3 separate regions of the Homo sapiens genome follow, and regions 1 and 2 are each linked to region 3. The links are contacts of gene promoters, found by promoter capture Hi-C in human tissues and cell types (Jung and others, 2019). All regions are on one chromosome and are shown on one strand. Each heading gives the region's core, a stretch centred on a gene start or on the middle of the fragment in contact. The rest is flanking DNA. Distances are from core to core; before and after follow the strand shown. Region 1 holds the start of GOLGA7 (golgin A7). Region 2 has its middle 19 kb from the start of CHRNA6. Region 3 holds the start of AP3M2 (adaptor related protein complex 3 subunit mu 2).

Evidence for each region. The method cuts DNA at HindIII sites, captures the fragments that hold promoters and counts their contacts. A contact is called where the count stands out against the background at its distance.
Region 1: the fragment with the promoter of GOLGA7 here is called in contact with the fragment with the promoter of AP3M2 in region 3 in 1 of the 25 tissues and cell types used here (hippocampus).
Region 2: a contact is called between a fragment that was not itself captured here and the fragment with the promoter of AP3M2 in region 3, in 1 of the 25 tissues and cell types used here (aorta).

The regions. Positions count from the first base shown.
Region 1 is chr8:41,489,330-41,492,029 of GRCh38, reverse strand. GOLGA7 (golgin A7) reads right to left here and starts at 1,448. Exons shown (of 5, transcript NM_001002296.2): 1 at 1,065-1,448. The coding sequence starts at 1,175. RefSeq lists enhancers at 818-927, 978-1,087, 1,378-1,507 and a silencer at 1,558-1,817. The HindIII fragment of the contact is 13,455 bases long and covers 1-2,700 here.
Region 2 is chr8:42,747,983-42,750,682 of GRCh38, reverse strand. No RefSeq gene overlaps it. Among named protein-coding and RNA genes, the nearest start is that of CHRNA6, 19 kb to the left of the region's middle. The HindIII fragment of the contact is 4,793 bases long and covers 1-2,700 here.
Region 3 is chr8:42,151,705-42,154,404 of GRCh38, reverse strand. It overlaps AP3M2 (adaptor related protein complex 3 subunit mu 2), which reads right to left and starts at 1,342. Exons shown (of 9, transcript NM_006803.4): 1 at 1,300-1,342. RefSeq lists a silencer at 827-1,436 and an enhancer at 2,267-2,386. The HindIII fragment of the contact is 9,480 bases long and covers 1-2,700 here.

The DNA.
Region 1 (2,700 bases), core at 199-2,698, 660 kb after region 3:
GCAGTGCAACCCACCTCACTGCAAACTGACTGTAAATAACTGCTACACATTTCTCTACACAGACTCATCCACACCCACTTATCCCATGACCAGCATCTCTCAGTCCCACACCCAAGGAATGCCTAATCACCTCTCAGGCCCTCGTCCTCCCTGTCACAGAGGAGAGAGCCACAAAACCTGCTTCCAGCTAACCAGAAATTGATCCCTGAACGGGAAACACAATCTACATAACATGGGTCAAGACCAAAAGAATCTTTGGTTGAATGTACATATGTGGGCACACAAAAACACAGGCAGGCACGCACACACTCCATTACCTCTACAACAAGATACAATGATTTTTTTTTTTTTTTTAAAGTTTTGCTAGGTCTGAAGGGGAAGCAAATCCCATTCTTCCATTTTTGCCTGCAATGTTGCCCAAAGGACCTATATCCTGATGACCATTTTGATATGCAAGACAAAACAGGTGGCTCCCAGTGAATGTGACAAGTTTAAGGCCTTGTTCTGAGACATTTTCCTGTCCAGGCCTATCTAACGCCCGACGTCTTTAAGGTTCCAAGAAAGCCTGAACGCACCGCCTGGCCATGCACCTAATAAACCCTTTCAGCCAAACAGTGCGGCCAGCACAGAGGCAGCAAACACCAGTCACGAGAATGATGATGATTTATCTTGCGCGGAGAGGTAGGAGGATATAGTTTACAACCTGGTGACTGAGACGACCTGGAGCCTCAGGAATTGGCTCCTCATCGCTGCCGACAATAACCCGGGGTGGGGATTTGGGGGAGTGCAGCAGGGGAACACTGCTGGATCCAGATTCCCGGCACCGGGCAACAAAGTTCCATAAGGTCGTCAACCCCGGCGATCGGCCTATATTATTCTTCCTGCTCCAAACACCTGTCTTGCTTAGTGGCTCTCTTCTTACACGTTTGGCCAAGGCCCCTTCTGTGCCTGGACCTCCCCAGAACTGCGGGACCCTCAAAGGCCCGGTTGTCGCCCACACCCTTCCCGTCCCCGGTGAGTCTCTCTCCCTCGCCAGAGCAGGCGTGGGGAGCCAGGTTGCGTACCCGGTTCTCCAGCTCCGCAGGGAACTTGGTCTGGAACTGGCAGCGTGTGCCACTGCTGTAGTCTCGCTGAATGAACACCTTTCCGGACACCGGCGCCTGCTGCGGCCTCATGGCGAGGACAGGACACCCCGCGCTGCGGGGTCGGGGGAACACCAACCGCGAGTCAGAGCCCCGGCCTGGACCCGGGACTCTGACCCGCCAGCCCCTCGCCCCCACCCGCCGCCGAAAACAGCCCAAGGCCTCCTCTGCCCCGCTCCCCTTCACCCATGCTGTCACCGCGGGCCTTAGCTGCCGCCTGGCCCAGGCCCCGCGCCCCCCACAACCCGGTTCGGCCCGGGAAACACAAACCCGCCTCCTCTGCCCTCCAGCTGCTGTCGCACCGCCTTCGCCGTCACTTACGTCCTGCCGCAAAAAGCCTCTTCCCCGCCCCTCAGCTCGGCCTCCTACCTCAGGTCTGGGACCCACCCTCTCCTCCGGCCGTAAAGCCACCCTGCCGAAGCTGCGCGCTGTGGGGCTGGGCCGAGGAAGGGAAATGATGTGGGCGGGGCCAGGGCCGACCCCGCCTTCCGCCCGCGCGGGGATTGTTTCCGGAAGGAGAGAGGCGGGGCGAGCTGTGGGGCTGCGGCCGGGGCGAGCTGTGGGGCTGCGGCCGGCGCGAGCGCGCGGGGGTGTGAGGGGCGGAGTTTCCCGGCTGTGTCACTTCCCTAGTGATTGTGGCAGGTGGTTCCCGATCACTGATTGTGAGGGGTCATTTTCGTTCTTGATTGGACGTCGCAGCTTACGTGTGGGTTATGCCACCCAACTCATACACAAAACAAAAAACAAAACATAAAGAAAAAACAACACCCCCTCCCCAAACCCTCAAACACAAACTGCTCATTGTGTTCAGAAGTAGAAAGCAGGCTCCAAGGATGGATCCATTTGGTCCCTAGACTCTTGAGAAAGGGTCAGGAAGTGAGGACGAAGAACCTGCCTGGGCCCCAGCGTTGGGCGCCCCTGCCCCGACTCTTCTTTGGGGGCGGCGTTCCTCTCACCCCCCATTTCCACCCAGCTCCCATCCACATCCCTCAGGTGACCAAGGGGACAAGTGGTTCCGCCCTCGTTGCCCACTGGCCCTTACTTGACTCAGCATTTCTTTGCAAGGCAGCCAAAGAAACCCCACCTTACCCTTGTCTCCTGCTAATACAACCTGTTAGTACCACTGTCTTTTATATATTTAATATAGTTTAAATATCCTGCCTTTTAAATATGAAAAATTCTCTTACTGTATTTTAAAAACAGCTTTTTCGAGATATAAATGGCATACAATAAACCACACATTTAAAGCAGTGGATTTGATAACTTTGGACATATGAATACACCCATAAACCACTGTCACAATCAAGATAGTAAAGCTCCATTGCCCTGAAAAGGTTCCTCCAGCTCCTGTGTAATCTCTCCCTCCTGCCTCTCCCAGACCCCATTTCCCAGGCACTGATCCACCTTCTGTCACTCAACATTAGTTTCATTTCCTTGAATTTTATATAAATTGAATCATATAGTGTGTACCCCCTTTTTTTGCCTGGCTTCTTTCACATAGACTATTTTGAAGTCCATCTGTTGTTGTGTTATCAATAATTCATTTATTTTTGATGCT
Region 2 (2,700 bases), core at 102-2,601, 600 kb before region 3:
GGCTCCCAAGTAGCTGGGATTACAGGGGCCCGCCACCATGCCTGGCTAATTTTTGTACTTTTAGTAGAGACGGGGTTTTGCCATGTTGGCCAGGCTGGTCACGAACTCCTGACCTCAAGTGATCCACCTGCCTCAACCTCCCAAAGTGCTGGGATTACAGGCATGAGCCACCGCACCCAGCCTGAATGACTCTATTTTAGAGCATTTTTATTCCCTATAATATTGGTGATTGTAGTACCTACCTTTTATCTTCCTGTCTTTATAGAGGGTTGGTTGTTACGCAATACTTTATTTTTTATTATTAAGCCCAATCAATGTTTAATTTCATTTAAAATTTGTTTAACTGTGGTAAAATCACATAACGTAAAATTTCCCATCTTAACCATTTTTAAGCATCCAGTTCAATGACATTAAATCCCTCCTTTTTTTTTTTTTGAGACGGAGTCTTGCTCTGTCGCCAGGCTGGAGTGCAGTGGCACAATCTCCACTCACTGCAACCTCTGCCTCTGGATTGAAGCTATTCCCCTGCCTCAGCCTCCCAAGTAGCTGGGACTACAAGCACACACCACCATGCCAGGCTAATTTTTTGTATTTTAGTAGAGACAGGGTTTCACCATGTTGGCCAGAATGGTCTCGATCTCCTGACCTCGTGATCTGCCCGCCTCGGCCTCCCAAAGTGCTGGGGTTACAGGCGTGAGCCACCGTGCCCAGCCCATAATGCCTTCATGTTGTTGTACAACCTTCAGCACCATCCATCTCCAGAACTCTTTGTCCTGCAACACTGAAACCCTGTACCCAGTAAGCAGTTACTGCTCCTTCTCCCCTACCTCACAGGCAACCCCCCATTCTACTTTCTGTCTCTATGAATTTGACCACTCTGGGTACCTCATATAAGGGGGATCATATTGTGTTTGTCCTTTTGTGACTGGCTTATTTCACATAATGTAACAGCTTCAAGGTGCATCTGTATCGTAGCATGTGTCAACATTTCTTTCATTTTCAAGGCTGAATAATATTCCGTTGTCTGTATTTACTGCCCTTTATGTATCCATTCACCTGTCAATGGACACTTGGGTTGCTTCTACCTTTTGCCTGCTGCCATGAACTTGGGCTTACAAATAATTCTGAGTCCCTGCTTTCAGTTATTTTGGGTATATACTTAGAAGTGAAATTGCTGGATCAGACAGTTATTCTATTTTTTAATATTTAATTTTTGTGGGTACATAGGACTTGTATATATTGATGGGTTATGTGAGATATTTTGATATAGGCATGCAGTGTGTAATAATCACATTGGTGATTATTATAAATGGGGTGTCTGTTACCTCAAGTATTTGTCCTTTGTGTTACAATCTAATTATATTTTTAGTTATTTTTAAATGTACAATTATTTTTTACTAGTCACCCTGTTGTGTTAGCAAATACTAGATCTTATTCATTCTTTCTATTTTTTTGTACCCATGGTTATTCTATTTTTAATTTTCTGAGGAATCATTATACTGTTTTCCACAGTGCTGTACCATTTTACGTATTCCCACCAGCAGCGCACAAAGGTTTTGATTTCTCGGCATGCTCACCAACACTTGTTATTTTCTGGGGTTTTTGGCAGTTGCCATCCTAATGGGTGAGAGGTGGTGTCTTGTGGTGGTTTTGGTTTGTGTTTCCCTAATGATTAGCAATGTTGAGCATCTTTTCATGTGCTTACCGGCCATTTGTATATCTTCTTTGGAGAAATGTCTATTTAAGTCCTTCACCCATTTTAAAAATCAGGTTATTTGTGGCCTAGCGTGGTGGCACACGCCTGTAATCCCAGCACTTTGGGAGGCCGAGGCAGGCAGATCACGACGTCAAGAGATCGAGACCATCCTGGCCAACATGGTGAAACCCCGTCTCTACTAAAAATACAAAAATTAGCTGGGCGTGGTGGTGTGCACCCGTAGTCCCAGCTACTTGGGAGGTTGAGGCAGGAGAATCACTTGAACCCGGGAGGTGGAGGTTGCAGTGAGCGGAGATTGTGCCACTGCACTCCAGCCTGGCGACAGAGTGAGACTCCATCTAAAGAAAAAGAAAATCAGGTTATTTGTTTTTTGAATTGTTGAGTTGTAGGAGTTCTTGATATGTTCTGTATATTAATCGCCCATCAGATATAAAAACGAGACTTTTAAGAATTGCATTGGCCGGGTGCAGTGGCTCACGCCTGTAATCCCAGCACTTTGGGAGGCCAAGGTGGGCGGATCACGAGGTCAGGAGATTGAGACCATCCTGGCTAACACGATGAAACCCTGTCTTTACTAAAAATACAAAAAATTAGCCAGGTGTGGTGGCGGACGCCTGTAGTCCCAGCTACTAGGGAAGCTGAGGCAGGAGAACGGCGTGAACCTGGGAGGTGGAGCTTGCAGTGAGCCAAGATCACGCCACTGCACTCCAGCCTGGGCGACAGAGCGAGACTCCGTCTCAAAAAAAAAAAAAAAAAAGAAAGAAGAATTGCATTGCAGCCAGGTGCAGTGTCTGATGCCTGTAATCCCAGCACTATGGGAGGCTGAAGCGGAGGGATGGCTTGAGTCCAGGAGTTTGAGACCAGCATGGGCAATATGGTGAAACCCTGTCTCTACAAAAAATACAAAAATTAGCTGGGTGTGCTGGCACCTGCAGTCCCAGCTACTTGTGAGGCTGAAGTGGGAGGATTACTTGAGGCCAGGA
Region 3 (2,700 bases), core at 93-2,592:
AAATTGCATCCATTTAAAATACTACTTATCTGTGGGTGTCTATTTTCTCAACCGAACCGCAAACTCCTTGAAGAAAAGGGCCGTGCCTCATGTTTTGCGTTGCCTGACTGCAACACAATCAGTGTTCTTTGAAGAGGGCTTCCAAGAACACTGAATTTGATGTCATGTTTTGGCAACAGCTCACACATACACAAGAAATGCGCAGCTTAATACGATAGCCACTATGGGACCAGCGAGCACTTGAAAGGTGGCTGGTGCGGACTGAGGTGTGCTGTTAAGTGTAAGACACACGACAAATCTGAAAGGCTTTGCATGAAAAAAAAAATTTCAAATATCTTACCAATAATTTAATATTGATTATATGTTGTAATAACATTTTGGATATCCTGGGTTAAATCAAATATATTAAAATTAATTTAACCTGTTTTATTATTTTAAAGTGGTTACCAGAACATGTACAATTACATATGTGGTTTGCTTTCTATTTCTGCCCACCAGAATTGGTGGGAGGAATGGAAAGCTGCCCTTGGGGGTCTTTATTCATCCAATCAGAGCTATTCTCTGAGCACTCCTTAGGCACTTGTTAATGCAGTAAGACATTTAAAAAGATCCCTTGGGGCTCCCGCCTGTGATCCCAGTACTTAGGGAGGCCTCCGCGGGCAGACCGCTGGAGCTCACGAGTTCGAGATCAGCCCGGGCAACAGAGGGAGAACCCCGCCCCCTCCACCTCCAAAAAAAAAAAAAAATTTCCCTGGGGGACAGACACCCCAAGGCCCTCAGACGGTTGCATCTCTCTGGTGCCAGTCGCCAGGATGTGGCCATTCCGCGAACCGGCGCGGGTGGTCAAAACGCAGAGGCCTGCGGTGCCCAGCGCCGCCTGGAGGAGACAGCAGGAGGGAGAGACAGCCAGGCAGCCCGGGGTGCGAGGGAGAGGCAGCGGCCTAGGCAGGCGGTCCCTGCGCAGGCCCCGGCCCAGAGCCGGCGGCGACGGAGGCCGCGGGGCGCAGGCGGGCAGGGGCCTGGCTGAAGGGGCACGCGCGTTCCGGGGTGAAGAGCGCAGGGGTGCCGGGCCGCGCCAGCGAGCGCACGTGCGCTGCCATGGCAACAGTGTCCCCTCCGCCCGCAGCCGCGGCGCCGGGAAGGACGCCCTCCCCGAACTCTGAACCCGGCCCCTCACCTCTCCCCGCCGCGTCCGCAGCCCTGAGAGGCCGCCCGGCTGCATCCTGAGACCCCGCCCCGACCCTCGCGCGCCCCCACTCCTGCCCCCTCTCCAGGCTCGGGGTCGTCCCTACTCCTCACCTGGCCTTGCTGCTCTCAGCGCCCACTGCTCCTAGGCGCGGACAGGCCCCGCCCCGCCCGCCGCGCGCGCTGAGGCAGCCGCTCGCCCGCTGATTGGCCGGCCCGCGGCCTGGCTACCGCTCCGCCCACGATCTGCGCCTGAAGGCCGCTGATTGGGTATCTGGGAGCCGCTCCTCCCCTCTGATTGATCGCTGTTGGCGGCTTGCCCTGTTGTCGGGCTCGAGTCCCCCGATTGGCCCTGTTGAGGCCACGGTCATCTCCGATTGGTACAGCTCCGAGACCCCGAGTCCTGATTGGAGGTCGAAGACAGTGCGTGCTGCTCGGCCCCACTCATCCAGTCACAAAGGGCTGGGGCGGTCGCCGCGCTCGCGTGTTTGCGGAGTGCGCCTGGAGGGGGCGCTGGAGTATGTGTGTGCCGGGGCGGGGTGGCTTCCGGGCACGAGTTGCTGACAGCGCCTCGCGGTTGATAAATCCTGAGGGCGGCGGCTACCCTGCACTCCATCGGTGCCTTTGGGAAGCGCCGCCTTCTCTGTTGTACCCGGCCGTGGGTCAGGTCGGCGCGGCTGGCGGTGGAGTCTCGGACACCGAGCCCTGGACCCCGACTCTGGAAGCCCCCAGCCCCACTGGGCCGCGGCAGGGCGCCCACCCTCCACAATCTCAGTTCCCAGCCGGGGAGTGAGGGGCTGGGCGGGTCTCTCCACCGCTTTGGAGACCTCAGGACTTGGATACGCTTTTGAGTGGTCCCAGTCGTCCTGATCCACGAAGGCGTGGAGTGGAAGTCAGGACCAGGGGTCGCCCCAGTGACGCAGGAAGTCAAGCCCAGATGCGGTGAGGCGTCGCCAGCCTTGGACCCAGCAGTGGGCGCTGGTGACAGTGGCGACCTCGCCGATGAGAGGTTCGCCCTCCCTAGCATTAGTTGTCACTTTGGTGAAATGGAGCGTGGGTGGCAGCTCCTCCACACACAAGCCCTTTGCTGAGGTGGTGCGGGGGGTTCTCTCCACGCTTGCTAAGGGCAGGTAGTTGGCTGACTTTGAACTATGAAGAAAAGCCAGAAACAAAATGGCAGAATGGTATGACTCTGGGTGGGCTTAGGGACGCTGGTGCCAGAGGACTTGGCTTGAACCCGCTCCAACACTTACAACCTGAGTGACCGTGAGAAAGAACTGTAACTCCTCTAAACTTCAAGTTCCTCACTTCTCAAATAAGAACGTGAATAGTACCTCCCTCCTAGAGTTGTGAGGATTGAGTTAGAAAATGCTAGCAATTGTTATGCCCTAAGGAACAGCACAAGATACAATAACACGTGATAATGTGTGTCGAAGGTGCAGAAATGCAGTCGCTGCCGTGAGAATTTCTCATTCATTCACTGAATTAACATTTGCCGAAAACCCCCACGTATCG